Regions from separate parts of the Homo sapiens genome. Here all the other regions are linked to region 3. The links are contacts of gene promoters, found by promoter capture Hi-C in human tissues and cell types (Jung and others, 2019). All regions are on one chromosome and are shown on one strand. Each heading gives the region's core, a stretch centred on a gene start or on the middle of the fragment in contact. The rest is flanking DNA. Distances are from core to core; before and after follow the strand shown. Region 1 overlaps JAZF1 (JAZF zinc finger 1). Region 2 overlaps JAZF1 (JAZF zinc finger 1). Region 3 holds the start of EVX1 (even-skipped homeobox 1). Region 4 overlaps TAX1BP1 (Tax1 binding protein 1).

The links. Contacts are between HindIII fragments. The study calls those that stand out against the background at their distance.
Region 1: a fragment that was not itself captured here is called in contact with the fragment with the promoter of EVX1 in region 3 in 4 of the 25 tissues and cell types used here (IMR-90 fibroblasts, lymphoblastoid cells, mesendoderm cells and 1 more).
Region 2: a fragment that was not itself captured here is called in contact with the fragment with the promoter of EVX1 in region 3 in 4 of the 25 tissues and cell types used here (heart left ventricle, mesendoderm cells, spleen and 1 more).
Region 4: a contact is called between a fragment that was not itself captured here and the fragment with the promoter of EVX1 in region 3, in 2 of the 25 tissues and cell types used here (mesenchymal stem cells and small bowel).

The regions. Positions count from the first base shown.
Region 1 is chr7:27,947,832-27,951,975 of GRCh38, reverse strand. All of the region lies in intron 2 of JAZF1 (JAZF zinc finger 1), which reads left to right. Among named protein-coding and RNA genes, the nearest start is that of TAX1BP1-AS1, 210 kb to the right of the region's middle. The HindIII fragment of the contact is 6,016 bases long and covers 1-4,144 here.
Region 2 is chr7:27,905,060-27,909,231 of GRCh38, reverse strand. All of the region lies in intron 2 of JAZF1 (JAZF zinc finger 1), which reads left to right. Among named protein-coding and RNA genes, the nearest start is that of TAX1BP1-AS1, 170 kb to the right of the region's middle. The HindIII fragment of the contact is 3,503 bases long and covers 134-3,636 here.
Region 3 is chr7:27,239,695-27,244,489 of GRCh38, reverse strand. EVX1 (even-skipped homeobox 1) reads right to left here and starts at 1,688. Exons shown (of 3, transcript NM_001989.5): 1 at 1,033-1,688. The coding sequence starts at 1,459. EVX1-AS (EVX1 antisense RNA) reads left to right here. Exons shown (of 4, transcript NR_120507.1): 2 at 2,480-2,575; 3 at 2,849-2,941; 4 at 3,040-3,061. RefSeq lists an enhancer at 1,193-2,070. The HindIII fragment of the contact is 9,702 bases long and covers 1-3,110 here.
Region 4 is chr7:27,790,916-27,795,708 of GRCh38, reverse strand. It overlaps TAX1BP1 (Tax1 binding protein 1), which reads right to left. Exons shown (of 17, transcript NM_006024.7): 9 at 3,479-3,703; 10 at 2,497-2,643; 11 at 1,263-1,386. Among named protein-coding and RNA genes, the nearest start is that of TAX1BP1-AS1, 53 kb to the right of the region's middle. The HindIII fragment of the contact is 7,368 bases long and covers 1-4,793 here.

The sequences.
Region 1 (4,144 bases), core at 1,513-4,012, 710 kb before region 3:
AAGAGTAGGCTTTTGTAGTTTCTCTATAGGAGGGAATGGAGTGAGCATGAAAGGAGACAGAACCTGTGGCTCAGCTCAGTAATTCAATCTGAGGAAGGACACAGAGGCAGCAAAGGAGAGAGGTTGTAGAATGTCAGCAGTGTGGCTTATGAACCCGCCGTCTTTCTCTTCTTACACCAGATACCTTTTCTGATGTGTTGATTCTAAAACTAGGAGATGGCTGAGCAGTGTTTTTGTCTTGTTCCAATAGTGTGGGACCAATGCTGTGTTCTCCTTCTTAATTGGTTCTCTGCCTTTGGAAGAATTGTTGAGTATAAGCACCAACATCAGGACCTAAATACTGTAATAATTAACTTGTAAAAGGATTCAGGATCCTGAATGTTTGCTGAATGAACTAATTCATTTTACAAAACTGGACACACCTGGATTCTTGAAGCTATAAAAACAAATCTGGTCGCCCAGGAAAGATGACCATTTCAGAAAAGTAACCATAAGGCTTATGCTTTGATGTCTAAAATGCATGCTTTTCCTTTTTATTCATGTACACTGTGGCAGCAAATGCCTTAGAACCTGGCAAAAAAATTGCATTATTAAATAGAGACCTATACAATTTCTTAAGGTAATAGTACTGTTCTTTTGGCTTAGCAGGGCTAATGCATCAAGCAATGCCAGGGTAAAGACCATTACACATCTAGAGGGGTTCTAGATGTATGTGAGCCAGAGTAGCATTCCTACAGGGAAGTTAGCACACCCAGATGAAAATTGAACAGCATATTTAAATAGGAGTGATAAGCTTAATTATAACAACCTTTTATTGAGTCCTTACTATGGGCCAGGCACTGAGCTAAGCCTCTTCAGTAAGATGGGGAATAGAAGTAATTAAAGCTGGGTTACGTGGGTTCACCATCCTAAAAGAATGGGCAAAATTCCATGGAACTCATACCAACATTTATTTAAATATCATTTAAAATGGAAAATGTAGTTGCTTCATTTTGTATTTGCAGAAAATTAGAAGAGAAAGACGAAATTATCTTGTATGCAGGAGTTGTGCCTTTTTTGTCATTGAAATTCAGGTTGTTCGAGCCATCTGTTCATTTCTAACAGAAGCCTATTGCACTGATTTGTAATTATTTTGTGTCCTATGTTTGGCCTTGAGGTAGCCATTAGCTTATGAATGCTGTGACCAACTACTCGATGTAGTCTTATGTAGTACAATGCAGGCAATGTACTTGGCTAAATATCAAGCTCATGGCACATAGTGGACACTCTGTAGGTCCCTTGGACAATACAGAATTGAAGTTTTGTTAACCAAGTTTGGTTCAAAGTTAGAATGGTTTCATAAGTACCAGACCTGTGTTTGACATTTGGTTCTTCAGTTATTATAGGTTGAAGATCATTAGGGTTAGTGTCATAAAAATCCTGGTTTTTGGTAAAGTGTACGCCTACCTAGACCTACTCAAAGGTCCCGTGGGTGTGGGTGTGATAGTGGCTTTTCATTGGTAGTCTTCTGTAGATCTTTTCAACTAGATAGGGCTACTGGATGATCCCAATCCCTCTTGGGAGGGATGGCATTCCAAGGCAATGGATCCAAACGTGCCTATGGGCACTGGGCCACCTGGAGCTTGAAGCAGCTTTGCATATTTAGTCCCTCAAGTGATTCGCTGTCAACTGCTCAGGGTGTCAGCTGAGACTCCTGCTCTGACATCAGACTGTATAGCCTCAACAACTCTGCAGAGAGTCTTAATGCTCTGGTATCTGGCTGATCTAACCACTTCTATATTACTTAACAGATTACAAAATATTTTGATATACATAGTCTCATTTGACATGCTCATGATGATACTACAAAGTCTTGAACCTTGAAAATGTTAACCGGTGCAAAGCTCAATGATGCCAATGTTTCACAAAGAGGAGTGGAAGGTGGAATGAGATTGTATCAAAAGTATCGTGAAAAGCAGGTAAGTTATCTCTCTAATTTAGGTCTGAAGCTGAGTGTCTAGTAAAAGTCAGGAATCCTGGGAAGTTCCTAAGTTGGGGATTGGGAGACAGTGGAGAGATAATTTTGACCTGTGTCTGAGGGGTAAACTTGAGACTCCTGACATACATTCATGAGGCTAGCAGAGCTGTGAGAGGCAGCTTTTTAACGATTGGCATTGTCTAGGAGGCAGACTGTTAATTTTATTTTATTTATATATTTAGTTTTTGAGACAGAGTCTTGCTAGTCTTGCTCCGTTGCCTGGGGTAGAGTGCAATGGCACAATTTCGGCTCATTGCAACCTCTCTGTCCTGGGTTCAAGCAATTCTTATGCCTCAGACTCCCGAGTAGCTGGGATTACAGGCATGTGCCACCACGCCTGGCTAATTTTTGTATTTTTAGTAGAGACAGGGTTTCACCATGTTGGCCAGGCTGGTCTCAAACTCCTGACCTCACATGATCCACCTGGCCGGAGGCAGACTTTTAAATAACCACAAGAGCACACTTTGTGGCTCAGACCCACAGGGAGAAGGTCAGCATCATGCATGAGCATGGCAACACTTCCCTGCTTGTAGTTTGGGTCCTGGAACTACACATGCACTCTAAAGGCTGACAGTGTGGGGACCTCCACTACCAAAAGGAAAAGAAAACACTGGGGAATGACAGGAGGGCACGACAATAGAAAGGCTGGTGGAGGTCAAACGGGGAGCCCAAGGAACAGCATGATCAGCCAGAATTGTTGTGTTGACAGTTGCCTTGCATCGCAAATCCTTCCCTTCTCAGCTCATCCCTTTCTCTCTCCTCAACTCTCCCTGGCCTCCCAAAATCCAGATGTCAGTATTATTGTTCTACAGAATTTATCTGAGTGACTATGGAATTGGAGGAGTCCAGAAAATAACATCTAGACAAGGATGCAAAGGGTGTAACTGATGAGAGCAGCTGTTGTGGGATGAGGGTGTGGCTGACAGCAGGGCCTGCTGAATTTGGCCTCTTATGCAGCCTTGTGAGTTTGTGGGTGCACATTTTAGCATATATCAGGACTTCCTGGGTGTTCAGAAAATGGATGTCTTCTAAGGGCAGGTAGAAATCCGTGAAGTTAATTGCCCAGTTTTCTAATCACTGACATAGGGTAGAACGCTGCACAAATGTAGAATGAAGCAAGTGAAAAAATTCCAAAACTTGACCACTACCTTCAAGTATGGTATTTTACATCCAGGAGCCCCCATTCTCTTTTTAATCACCAAAAACATGATCTAGCAATCTATCTGCAAACCCTTGTAGGTTATCAATACAGGTGGTCAATATACAGTCAATATAAAGATTGTATACAATCAATATTCAGATGGTTACTGTGTTTCTGTTCCTGACATCTTGGCTGTAAGTGCTCCCGCATGCCTGAAGTGAGTCTTCAGAAGAAGGGACAGAAAATACAGGGGTGTACAAATGATAAGTCATTGCTGTCAGGGTAATTACAGACTCTTACAAGGTTTTGATTTGGTCTCATTTTCCATAGGCATTGTGGCACAGTGGGAAAGGGGATGCAGAAAAAAAATAATGCTTCATTTGGACTTTACAGTCTCTCATCCTTATTGCCAGATTTGTTTGATTAGATGAGCCTCAGGTGAGGCAGGATACAACAGCTGCCCCTCTGTATAAATTTTACCAAATGCCACATGTAGTTTTTATTTGGCTGTGTTTGCAATGATAAGCTGGAGCACCGTGGCATGAAGCAGTCGGGAAAATGCTTGAAACTGAGCACAGATGTAAACACCCCTGGGTCTTGTAAATCTCCCACAGTAAAGCCCCTCAGAGTGTTTCTCTCTGCCCAGCCTGTGATTTTCAGGCTCCCCAGGACCTCTCAGTGGCTGGCTACCCCACATCAGTGACCCGAATATCACCAGCCCAGCAGCACCGTCCAGTGGCCTGGTATGGCACATAGACCATCTGCAGGCCACACCCACCCCTTTGCCCCCACGTCTTGTTTTTGACATCCTTGGCAGCCTCTGCCATGAATTGACCAAAAGACCTAAGTGTAAGATAAGAAAAGAGAAGTAGGAAAGCAAGCAGAGTTAGCCCGTGGATGCTGGAGGTAGAGACGGCTTGTCTGAGACACCCAGCTGTTAGTCATCAGAGTGTCCGTCTCCAGCCAGCTCAAGGCAATGCTGGCCA
Region 2 (4,172 bases), core at 636-3,135, 660 kb before region 3:
TTAAAAAAAGAAAGTGGTTATTCAAAATTAGCAGGGCCTGGGTGGTTATTCAAAATTAGCAGGGCCTGGTGGTGTGCAACTATAGTCCTAGCTACTCAAGAGGCTGAGGCAGGAAGATTGCTTGAGCCCAGCAGGTCGAGGCTGCAGTTACCTATGATCACGCCACTGTACTCCATTCTGGACAGCACAGCGAGATTCTGCCTCTGAATGAATGAATGAATGAATGAATATTATTCAAGTGTGTACTTACCTGAATAACCTAATAATACCTGAACATATTCAACAGGTGCCAGCCTCCTGGATAACAGGGAAAACTAAACTTGTCAATAGACAAAATTACAACAAATTTAAAGACTTCACTTGATTTTTATTTGTGATTCTCGAATCAGGCAACACCTCATTTTATAAAATAGAATGTGTGTTCCAATGAGCTGAGTAGATGAGGTTGGCCTGATAGGCAGAAAAGGGCTGAGAAAAGCAGAAACAGAACAAAAAGTGCATTGGTTCTTTTAAAGTCATTTGTTGTTCTTACAGGGGACTTCCAGCTTAGGTAAACTGGGCCCCTTCTGATTGGTTGCTGTGACTGTCCTGTTTTTTTGGAAAACTGGCCCATTTCAAAGTTTAGCCTGAGCAACTCCATTCTGGTTTGGTCTGCTCAGTTGGGGCCTAGTGCAGAACCTTAGTCCAAATCAGTGACCGTCCATGAATTTTATTTAATGCTTTTAAGTTCAGAAGTAGTTTAACTGAACTCTTGCAACAAAAGGCAAAAAATCACTTTGAAAAAAAATCAACCCCCAAAACCCATGAGACTTGAGGTCTGTAAGCTTGAGATGCCCACATGCACATGCTTTGTCACAGAACAGCCCATGCTGGAAACTGGCTTTGCCCCCAAAATAGTTTTACTGTCTTATTATTAGTACTTCATTTAAGAAAAAGTGCTGTAAACTCTGCTCTATCTTTCAACAATGCTAATTTGCTGACTGCTATTCTGTGTATAAACAAGTCTCATATACACCATAAATTTGAGCAGTTGGCCCATACATAATTACATTTCATGAATAGATGCTGTTATCTGAATATGTCACTAATATTCTTGCTTTAGCTTGGGGACAGCTCTTGTCTTAGACATACTCAACTTTCTCTCTCAGATATTACAGTCTGCCAGCTTTGTTCTCTGATTTTCTGAGAAGGGATAAAGTATGTACCAAATGCCCAGGCCAGGGTATTAGTGGAAATCTCAGTAGATATAGAAGAAAATGTGTAAGTCCACGATGGCACAGACTTTCAGCTTACATGTCACCTTCATTGGTTTGTAGTGACTACCTAGGGCACAGTGCTGAAGAAAACTGTAAGGCTGAGTCCCAAAGCAGCACAGGCAAGAGTGCTGTAATCGATTCGTGTGGCCGTCTTGGGCAGAGTGCATTTAAGTGGCACGAGAGCCACTGTGTGTGCCATCTCTGGCATAGAAAAACCCTACCTATTTGAGACCTCCTCTCACATTGAGAATCTTCTACCATCTCATTTGCTTCTCCTCCCCTTTCTCAACCCAGTGTTTAATTAACTGGACACCTCCAGTGTGCCTCACCCCCTGGTGCTAGATTCCCCGGGAGTCCCTTGTTCTTAGCTGGATGTTGATGGTCACCCACCCCACCTTGTCAGAAGAATTCACCTAAGGATAAGGCCATGCAACATCAGAGAAGCACTTTTCTTTGGAAATGGAGATGTCCAATCCCAGGCTTCGATACCTATCTTAGCCCAACTGTGGACTGCATAGGTTCCCCCAAGAAATTACCTCTTATGTAAGAATTCTCCTAGATGGCAGTTAAATTTATAAACAATTTCTCCTTCCTGGGAAAGGGTCAGGAGCACAAGGCCAGCACCCATGGAAATACCACAACTCTGAGTGGTCTCCTAACATATATTGAGTATTATGTGGAGCCAAGGGCTTTTCATGCATTTATCCAATGAGATGTTGATAATAAACCCCATGAGGTAGGTGTTAGGATTACCTCTGTTTTATAAGGAGGACCCCAAGATGAGAAGGAGTCATTAATTTTCTAAGCTTGAACACCAACTAACTCAGATTAAGAGTTTGCCTTCAGAACCTAGATTTTTTCACCCACCAGGCTGTGTTCCCAGCTGAATACTGGATTTAAAACTCTAAGAGCCTTAGTGCAACTTTCTCTTCAGTTTTTAAATTTCTTCTAGTTTATGGGGAAAGTTACGCATCATCTCATTAGCAGCTTACAGTGAAACCTCAATAACTCATTTAATTTACTTCTAGAGGAGGCAAAACAAGAAAACTGAAAAGCTATTTGTAGTTTTATACCACAAAACCTTGTAAAGTGCAGCTTCTTTGTTTTGTTCATTAGTCTTTACGTGGATGTCAAATTAGCAATGAAAACCATGTGTAAGAAATAGCCATAGTTATTTGCAATTCAATGAGGGTAGAAAAGGAACGGAAAGGAGGATAGGGAGTTGCCAAGAGAAAGATATTCCATTGGTCTCCAAACCAAAGACTTGTGGTATGGTAGCTTTCAGAAGTGTTTTTTATTCTTGGCATCAATGACGGAAAAGACCATGGTTTATTTTATTCAGGCTAAAGTAAATCAAAATTAATTGCTTCACTGATAATTTATGCTGACCTGTGACTTTAAAGAGTGATTGCCAGAGCCTGAGCAAGCTTTCATTAAGGTAGATTGACTATATCATTCCATAGTTGTGAAGAAAATATACAATATTTGTTGGGAACATACAAAGACATAGTATTCAGGAATGGGATTTTGTTATTTCAATGGCTCAGCTTTGGTGCCTGGATTTCATTTGAGTGCCAAAATTTAGGAAAAGATACTACTGGTTTAAAAAAGTGGTTCTTAAGTGCTATCCACACCACAGCTGCTAGTCTGCTGCTGTTCATGAGGACGTTTCCACTGGTCTGCAGTGTCTGCCTGGGGCATGTGGGGCCAGGGAACGGGGGCATCCAGCACCTCACCACCCCTCTGTGTGTCCAGCTGTGAGAGGACACTCAGCTCTTGCTCACCACCTCCCAGCTCTTGGAAAGGAGAAGCTACTGGATTTGAGTGCCCTTGTATTTGCCTTCTTTCGTTTGCTTAGCATATTTCAAGCAATTCCACCTAAATTTAAGAGTTCTGTTTGGTCAGCATTCCTTGCAACTGAATTTTTCGCAATGATAATAATAGAAAACACATTTAGATATTTTTAAAAATTTGCATCTAGAGAATAATTGTAAACAGTATGTTATAAATAATACTATATATATGTGATGCAAGTATAAAGTAATGATAACATGAAATTTTATATTGTGGCTTTTCTTCATCAAAACAGTTTAAGTAGATTTTTCCTATGTTCTGTTATCATAATCTCAGAATAAAGAAGAATCTTTCTCAAGAAAGCCTTTCTCAAGAAAGGATTTATTCCAAGATTATGCTCTTCCTATATTTTATGTTAAAGTAGTTTTTCCTTTTTAATTAGAGGCTGGTGATGATAGATGGTAGTTAGATAAGGTATACATGGCAATATAAAAATTGGCAACCCAATGTTATTTAAATACTAAAAAAGGTATGGAATATCCAAACTATAATATACCAAAGAGAATATAAATTTACTGTAGCTGCCTTTAAAAAAGAAAATAAAAATAAGAAAAAAAATAAAAAATAAAAAGAAAAATAAATAAAATATGATTGTCAAGACAGTAGATGAAGGAAAGATCACCTTTTATCTTTTTTTATCCTTACCCCACCTTTTCTTCTTCCCTCTCCCCCACAAAAAAAAAAAAGAAAGAAAGAAATGAACATCTAGAAGCAAAATAAGCTACAAGGTTTGGTATGAAATTGGCTTGCCCTCATATTTATTTATTTTATGCAAAATTAGATTAGAATTCTCCAAAGACCGGGAACTATATCCTTCCATATATGTCATATATAAACTTAGAAAACTTAGAAAAACAGGCCAGGCGTGGGTAGCTCATGCCTGTAATCCTAGCACTTTGGGAGGCCAAGGCAACGAGACTGCTTGAGCCCAGGAGATAGAGACAAGCCTGGGCAGCAGAGTGGGATCCTGCCTCTACAAAAATTTAGCCTTGGATGTGGTGCTCTACAAAAAATACAAAAATTAGCTGGGTTTGGAAGTGCATCCCTGTAGTCCCAGCTACT
Region 3 (4,795 bases), core at 439-2,938:
TTCTGAGGGTTATGGGAAGGAGGCTGGGTGAAATCGGTGATAAGATAGTAAGGGGTAGGTGCAGGTATTCAACAAGGCGTTGGCTGCCAAGACCAGGGGGTGGTCTTTCTCCCCCCCGCCCCCAGGCTCTTTCCACCCACTCCTACAGTTCTGTGGAGGAGTGTCTGCTGGTGGGCTCCCCTCTCCTCCCCCCCACCAACCCGCGCCCAGTTTTCTACCCCCTTCTGGGGAGGTGATTGTTGGCACAGAGGGAAACTCCCTTCCGGGCTATCCACCCCTTTCCCATTAGCCTTTGGTGGGGAGGGGTTCTCCAGTTAAACCAGCCCCCCTTTGGGCCTACCTCTGAGAAGGGTGGGGCTCCAGCCCCCTGCAGCTCCTTTTCCTTTGGGTGGAGAAGTGGGACTAGGAAGGAAAGGGGAAGGGGGGAGGACCCGATCTCTGCCTTTTCAAATGCAACCGGAGACCAAAGGCAATTAGACCATTGGGACCATTTCCGACCTGGCGCCGCGAAGCCCGGGAAGTGACAAGGTAATTTGGACCTCTGACCGACGTGCAAACTGGTCGGAGGGCTGCAGCACCCGGGCTGCCCAAGTGGGCCGCAATTTTACGGTCCTTTATGGACTCCTGGCTTCCGCGCCTCCATGCCTCTTACACCCTGCCAGCCACAAACTGCCCGGATCGGCGTTTGATCTTGCCCTCGCCTGGGGAAAGTGTCTTCCCCGAGCAATTGAAGCATTCCCCGAGCAGTTGAAACACTGGGTGCTTGGGGTGAGCTTCGAATCCCCCAAGTCCAGGACTTGCATCCGCCCCCTCAGCACCCCGCACTCAAGGCACTGCTGTCACCCTCAGTCCCGCCAATGCCAGAACACAGTAGGAGACCCCCGCCAGAACGCAGATAGCAGAGAGAGTTGCTCAGGTGGGTCCCCCCAGCCATCCTGCCCTAGGGGAAGGGAGTGTCTTCCTCCTGGCCTGCGCCGAAGTGAAGGGTGGGCGCAGTGGGAGGCCCGGGGAGCGGAGGGGCACGGTGGCTACCTTTGCTGTGCTGGTACTCGGCGTTCCCGGTGGCGCAGTCCGGGGTGCAGCTCACCTCGATTTCTTCATAGAAATCCGACTCGGTGTCCGAGCTACTGGGTTGCCCCTGTCCGGAGAGGCTGTCGACTGAGGGGGCCGGGGGTCCTGGGCCGAGCATGGCCGCCCCAGCTACCTGGGGCTCGGCGCCCGGCCCCGCCGCGCTGCCTGCGAGTCCATCTACCGGCTCCTCCTCCGGGCCTCCCCCGCCGCGCTCCCGGGTGGCCGGAGGGACGGCCCGAGGGCTCAGGCAACCACGGGGCACCATTTTCTCGGGCGGCTCCGGCAGCGGGCTGCCCACGGCTTCGGACAAATTTGAGACTCTCTTGCCAACCAGAGTGCCAAGCTGACCCCCATCCAGAAACACAACCATGTCCTTTCGGCTCTCCATCCCGGGGCTCTCCGGTGGGGGAGGGGAAAGCCCCAAGTGAGTTCCTAACCCCGGCTCCCTGGGTCTCCAGCGGCCGGACGGATCTTGGTTGCAAGAGGGAGAAAGAAAGGCCGGGTGCCTGGGAGGGCGCGGAGCTGCTGGAGCGCGGTCTGGACCGCGACCGCGGCGGTGGCGGTGGGAGCTAGGGTCACCTTGTGAAGCGAGCGCTCCTCTGTGCCGCACCGCCTCTGGGAGGAAGCCCCATTGCCCTCTTCTTTCTAAGCTGTCATCCTCCTGCTGCAATCGTCATTACAGTACCGCTGGTGACGCCACTCGGCGAGCGCAAGTGGATAAATAGAAACGTCTGCCACAGCGAAGATGAAAGGAAACCCGCAGCTAATGGCTCGGCAGTGATGCGCCAGGTGTGGGCCTCGCTCGATTGGGGAGGAGAGTGTGAAAACAGACAGAGAGACACACACACTGAGAGAGGGAGACACCCAGGCAGAGGGGATGCAAATGGAATTCCGCAGAAAGAAAAGAGAGCTTAACGCGCGCGGCGAGTTCCGCAGGGGCAGCGGGACTCGGTAATTAAATAAGCTTTTGATTTTTTCTTTTATTGTTGTTTTGACTTTTGTTTTCTTAACTTGGTGCCTTGATCTAACACCGATGAAAGAATCCATAACTGCATTTTAGAAGTGTGAAGCCCGGCTTACAAGCCTCAATTCTGTCGGCATTATTACAACTGTCTGCCCCTGGCAGCTAACCTCAAACTGGCTGAAAAGTCTTTTTACAAGCTACGGAAAAATGTATTCCCCCGCCCCAAGTTGACTGGAGAGCTTGAGGCTGGGCCATCTTTTCCTCTTTTCTCCTCCCTCTCCCTACCCACCTCTGTCTCCTTACTCCTGCGAACCAAACTTTGCTATTTTTCTTCCCTAAGGGGCAAGAAATAAATACCTTATTATTATTTTTTAATTTAAAGACCCGCCTTGGCTTCTGTAAGAGTGTGTGCTGATTTCTTTTAAATACCTCCTTCCCATCTAGATGGCCTTAAGTTTTCCACAGCCTGGCTTCATCTTGAGATGGCTATTCGTACAAGAAGTCGCTTTCCCGTTTGCCTGGACCTCGCCTGCACTCCAGGTATGTTGGGTGGGGAGAGTTTCTAAGAGTTGTCTTTTTTTTTCCCTTGCCCATATTTTAAAGTATTCGTTCAGAATCAGCGAAGTCTCCTGGAAAGAGGTTTTTCGAATGAAGAGGCGCCAGGAATGCGGCCCCTGCTGTGGCAGTACTGGAGGCCCCTACTTGGGAGAAGGCAGTAGCTTTCACCGCGCTATTTTGGGCAGGGGTTCAGCCTCCCCGAGTACAAAAAGGTTGGGGTTCATAGAGGTTTGACTCATAAGGTCCTCTCCCAAGTCCCTGCCTAGGGGCAGTGGTACCTGTCTCCAAAAGTGGATGGCGTTTGAGGTAGAAGAGAGTGAAGTCGCTGAAAATGCCCTAAAACAGCAAGTAAGTAGGGACTCTGATGAAGGGCTGGAGGTGGGGGCAGGGGTTGTGGAACTTAATATCTGGAAGCTGCCATAGGCCTCTCTTGGCTCCTCTCCCAGGGAAGAAGCTGGTATAAAACTCCTTCAAACTGACCCTTTTTGAGCTCCAAGCAAGTGTGCTGGGGCCAGGTGGGTGGGCTGAGTCTATCCCCACATTGCTGAGAGCAGGAGGTGGGCACCTTCTATGCTCAACCCCCCTTTCTCCGCCTCCTCCCGAAGAGCTTCTAGCCCTAGGCAGCCAGCTGCAAAGGGCAGCCCAGCACCTCCCTCCTTTCTGTGTCCCTAGCAAAGCCCCAGCTTTTACAGGTAAGTCCTCTTCCGTGACCTTTTTATCTGTTATCTCCTACTTTTCTCTCCTCCTTTTTCTCTTTCTGTATTCTTCTCCTTCTTTGCTTCTCTCCTCCATCTTCCTATCCATAGGGTTAAGGAAGGTAGAGGAAGTAAGGGGTCCAAAGAAAGACAAAGTTTCCTCTTCACTCCGGCTTTCCACTTCTCTTTCAGTCTAAGACGATGTTCATTAATCTTGCCTGGGGGCGGAGGCAGCGGGATCCGGAAGGTAGTGTCCACATAGATATTTCTACTCCTTGGGACTCCTGAAGCCACTATATGCTGAGCACTGCTAGCCCCAAAATCCAGGGAAATGTTTTAGAGGTGAGAGGATCAATTGGGAGTGAGGGGAGTCAAATCCTAGAACCTTTTCCTGCCTTGGAGAGCTGTCCAGGTATTCTATCTTTCTCTGTCCTCCCTACCAGCAGCCACAGCCTGAGGGAGCACCTGGCTTGCTCTCTTTCCTGTCAATGGCAAGCCCCCTGGGCATCTGTCTTAGAGCTTCCAAGGTTGCCTACTCTCTATAGGGCCCTCCAGCACTGGGCCTTTGAGGTGCCCACCCTCCTTTCCTCCTTGAGCGCTTAACCTTCTCGTGAGTAGCCTGCTGCCCCCATCTCCTGGGGGCTGGGTCCTCAGAGGGACTCCTGGCTCCCCACCCCGCCCCCAGCTCTGCATTCAATGGGAATCCTCTGTTTGATCCGCTTTTCTTCTGGGTGAGATGAAAGCCGAGTAGGAGTGAGAGATCAAGGAGTGCCACTTAGTCTGCTTCCTGGGTCGGGCCCTACGGAGCAGGGCTTACATCCCGCGGAGAGGGCTGGATGGAGCTGAGGACCGGCTTTTCAGAGGGAGGTTGCCTCCCTTGGGCTCCAGATCTGAAGCTTCAGGGACACATCCCCTCAGCCCAAAGCCTTCCCCAGCCCTCTCCCGACTTCTGCCCCGCTCTTTCAAAGCTGACTGGCCAGTCTTAGGAGCCTAGGGAACCACACCCACCCCCGCCCCTTTCCACCGGCGCATTAGGGGGAAAACGTTTTAACCAAATGTCACTTCTTCCAAAAGCATCCTTTCATCAACCTCACATTAAGAGCGGTTGGGTTTTTAAAGGAAAGAAGACAAAAAAAGAGAGGACTGGATAAGAACACTGTTTTGGTTTTTTGGGCGGTGAATGTGGGGGGAGTATTTAATAACATCGTTATCACTGTGTCGTGAAGGTTATTCGCGGCACGGCTCGAGAAGGAAGGTAAATTCCGAGAGCAAGTGAAGCCCTGCACAACCCCATTAAGCCTGGGCAATCCCATGACAGCGGAGAGGGGGTGATAGCAGCTGAGGTGGAGGCCGCTCCAGGCCCGGCGGCTTCTCATTTCTCGCGGCGGGGGACACCCATCCCCCACCTGCCACACGGCAGGCCCCCCGTCCCTTCCCCCGCTGGGGCGACGGGCTCCGGTCCAGCCGGCTCCTCTCGGATTGAAATTCTCCGGACTTCAAAAGCTCC
Region 4 (4,793 bases), core at 1,033-3,532, 550 kb before region 3:
TGGTGACACACACCTGTAGTCCCAGCTACTCAGGAGGCTGAGGCAGGAGAATTGCTTGAACCCAGAAGGCAGAGGCTGCAGGGAGCTGAGATCACGCCACTGCACTCCAGCCTGGGGGACAGAGTGAGACTCTGTCTCAAAAACAAAACAAAACAAAATTTGCTAAAAAGAGTTCCATAACAGCACAAAAATTGTTCTCCTTATATAACTGAATAGACAGGGTAAGTAGGAAAACCATACTCTGAGAATTCTCTTTCCCCTCTCTGAAAGCCAGGGTCTCACTATGTTGCCCAGGCTAGCCTCAAACTCTTGAGCTCAAGTGATCCTCTTGCCACAGCTTCCAGAGTAGCTAGGAGTACAAGCGCATGCCACCATACCCCACCAAGAACACATTTTAAATCATTCTTCTAGCCCTTCATTACCACTAAGTCTTTATTAAGTAAATACCCTATAACACCATTTTAGGTACTACAGAGGATACATGGAAACAGAAGGCTCAATTCTGTCCTACAGGGGATAAACCTAATATTTAATAGTCTAAGATGTTTACATTTAAAAAGACTTAAAAGATCAATTACTACACACACTAAACAAGAAAATATACTTTCTCTAGTATTTAACGTCATTACTGTCAAATTTACATAAAAGTGAAAAAATCAGGACAGATGAAAACCTAGTTAATCCAAGTTTTCATGTTATTAATGTTCTCACTATGTCTCTCTATTCTGTTCTATAAGTTAATAAACTAATAAAAACTTAACTCATCAGCCAACAGGTACATTGACAAGGGAAGAAGTACCCCCATTGATCCAAAGCAGCCAAAAATAAATGAATAAATAGAAAAATATGAGAATAATAGGGGATTTTTTCCCCTGCAGAATTTAAAAATTAAAATCCACAAATAAAATGCTTCAAAATTCCATAGATTTAATGGAACATAAAGTAAAAATTCAATTCGTGGCTTTTGTCCTATGTAGCCCAAATGAGTACTCACAAGCACCAGCTCATTTTTAACATGTGTGAATAGTCTCAAGAAGATAACTACTAGTTTACATTCACATTTTATATGTTCATGTTGTGTATATTCACCACTTGCATGACTCTATTTTACATTTATACCCTTATTTTCTTGTTGCCTCAATTCCTTCACTTATCACATGAAAATTTTTATGAACATCCTGAAATTCTAACACATGGAAGAAGGCAGTATAAGTACTTTTCAATGTAGGACACCCTACACAAAAAGTCTAAAAGATTTTTACCTGCAGAAGGTGATGGCTTTACATCTACAGTAGAGGCAGAAGTGGCTGGGTCTGTGTTTACTGAAGCATCATTCACTTTCTGCTGATTCCCCGTTTTCTTTGTGAAGACATTATTATTATTAGCCTATTCAAAATGTTAATAAGTTGTTAAATGAGTCAATGAATTAGTTATATTTCCTCCTTGCAGTAACTAAGTAAATAATATTTTTACATATTACTTTAGGAAATCCTAAGAAGTCCACAAAGCTGCTCTTGTTTTAAAAGCCAACAAAGACTAAAGTTATACACATCATTTTGCTAACTGACCTAAATGTTGCAAAAGAAATATACTATATTTTGCTTTTTCTTATAAACTCATCAAAAGACCACCAAAATAAGTCATTCACAGAAATCTACTACAAAGTTATAACGTACTCAAAAGGCCCCAGGCCAAATTCATACATGTGAGTGAGTCATACTTAAAGTATCATATTTTTTCACAAAAGCCTTCCTACTTTACTACATGCATTCCTTGCTTGTCTCCTCTGATTTAAAAAAGTAGGACCAGGAAAGTATCATATGCATCACATAGTAAAAGAGAGCTATAGTACCACTTTCAATTTCAGGTTTTAAATATGTTTCTTCTACATTTCCAGGAGTTCCTCAGATAGTAAGCCTTGTATTTAAGCACAGTTTAAGGACCCACATTGAAACATACATACCTCAAAACAAAAACATCTTCTTTGGTATATTACAAATCTACCTACCTATTCTCAAATGGAATAAAAAAGAATTAGCTAACACTCTTTAACTGTTCCTAATCTAATAGGAATAGGAATCTTCATAATATGAGTATGAAGAACTTGCCAATTACAACTGAGACACCATCTAAGACCTAGGGATGATTAATGGTGAACTCCAATGAGGATAGATGTCATGGTCACAAGAGTCAATAATAAGTATTGAGTTTTGAGTGACAGATATTTATCAAGAACTTAAGAGGGAAATTATCTAGAAAAGAAGACTTTTTTCTGTTTTTTCCTTGCTACTGCCCTTGCTTCCTTTGTTGGCTGTCCAGTAAATTAAAATTCCAGACTTTTTTAAAGAAGAGTTATTACAATATTTGGCCAATGACTTGAAATCAAGCAGAGATAAATAATATTTAAAAGGTTGATATTTGGAATATTACAAATTTGATTTTCGAACAAAAATACTAACAACACATTTTACTATGTGTAAATTTAATGATACTTACTGATTGATCTGAAAGTTTGTTTATTTGTTTTTGGAGCCTTTGGCATTCCTTAAATTTTTCTTTATAATGGTCTGCAGCCATCTGAAGACGGAGTTTCAGATCTTCAACTTCTCTTCTTAGTTCGTGTTCCAGTGTATCAGTCTTGTCCTAGAAAGAAACAAACATTTGAAGAAAAAAATAAAAATCTGATACCTCCTAATGTTAATAGTAACCCCAACTTCAATCTTACTTTTTTTCTTTTTTTTGTTTTTGAGACAGAGTCTTGCTCTGTCACCCAGGCTGAAACACAGTGGCCCAATTATGGCTCACTGCAGCCTTGACCTCCTGGCTCAAGCAATCCTCTTGTCTCAGCCTTTGGACTAGCTGGGACTACAGCTGCACACCACCACACCTGGGTAATTTTTGAAAATTTTTGTAGAGATGAGGTCTCACTATGTTGCCCGGGCTGGTCTTGAATTCCTGGGATCAAGCGATCTTCCCACCTCAGCCCCCCAAAGTGCTGAGGTTATAGGTGTGAGCAACTGTCCCCGGCCACTTTTTTATTTTGGGATTTTGGCTACAGAGCAACATAGGGTCTCTTGTTAAGTCCAGTTTTACATTCTTAGGACTAAGGTTCATTTAAAAAACTAGAGAAAAATAATCCACCTCCTGAAGAGCAATTATTACTCCCTTAAACAACCATAATACTGTTTTATACAGCTAGTAAGAAATTCCAAACAAAACAATACATATCTGACATCAATATATTTAATCAATAGGGCAGCTTTCACCAACCATTAAGAATTCTGCTTACAGAAGTTTTCCTTACAGCACACATTAACTGTAAGCCAAGAAGTCACAATGACTAAACAAAAGGAATGAAAATTTTAAATTTAAAATAAGGCAGAAATCTGACCTGTCTTATCTTAACACAATTTACTACTTTGTGAGATTATAGTGGTTTCTTAAATCAAAATGCAAATTCAAAATTAACTTGTTTTACCTGATCTTTTTTCATAGCATTTAGTTTAAGTTCTGCCACTGCATCAGCTAACTGCTTTTTCACTTTCTCGTTTTCCAAGCGTGCAGTATGCAGGTCTGCCATCGTTCTGTCTCGTACGTTGACAGCATCACTGAGTTCTTTAGCCAGAAAGACAACTTCTTGCCGAGTTGCCTGAACCTGTTCCTCTGCTTTACGAAGTTGCTCCTTTAAAAAACAAGTATCTTCCTGAAGAAAGCAGATAAATATATTTGTAATTCAACCACTCAAGTAAAAAACAGAAGCAGAAACAATTTTCGCACATATTTCAACAGGGCCAAAATTTTAGATATTGGTTTTTCTACTCATGACTTACAGAGTATATGCCTACAAAAAACTTAAGAAGTAACTTTGTTTTAGGTTCCCTCTATAACAACCCTATGTACTTGGTTTCACTGCTACTACTTTATACACAAGGAAGCTAAAGTACAGCGAGTCAGGCAACATACCCAGTGCTTAAGGACCTGCCCAAACTGAGGCTCAAACAAAAGATCCCATCCCCCAGAATCTCTTCAGCTAGAAATACTGACCCTCATTTTGTATGACTACCAGTAAAAATCATTCCGAAAGCTTCTTTGTAACACCAAAAATTTTGGTTAAAAGATGTTTCCTACTTTCTACCCCAAGAGACATCCAATATAATATAAATCTATTTCATATCATTATAAAAACACAGAACAGATTTAGGCCTTAGTTCTAAAAACAAAATATTGATATACAAATAGTAAAGACGAGGCATTGGGAAAATGAAAAGTAATTCATACTGCTTGACAAACCTAAAAGTATCTTTAAAAAGCTAAAATTGCCATGGTGAAATTATTTCCTTTAATATTAATGTTTAAACATTATAACATTTAAACATTATAAACACAATAAATTTAGTTTATTCAACTTCCTGTTTTTAATCTCTGTACTAAAAATAATGTAAAATCAGGAAAAAAATGCAACCCAATATTGGTTTCTAAACTGTTAGCCCCTTAGAAGGAAATGTAAATGATGATTTTATGCAGTGTTGGCATGGACAAAATCTTCGGAGGCATCACACTAATAGATCTACCTATAAAAAGATCGCCAACTTCTATATGTCAAAGGAGAAGAAAAAGAACTAGAAGAAAATTATATGTAATATATTCAAGAAAGGTATAATAATACTTGATATAAATAACTTTTCTAGTCAATAAGGAGAAACAAAACAAAAGTCAAAAGTCATGAACATACAAAATTTTCTAAAGAAATAAATGCGATTATGCAGTAAAAAAATTCAACTCACCAACAATCA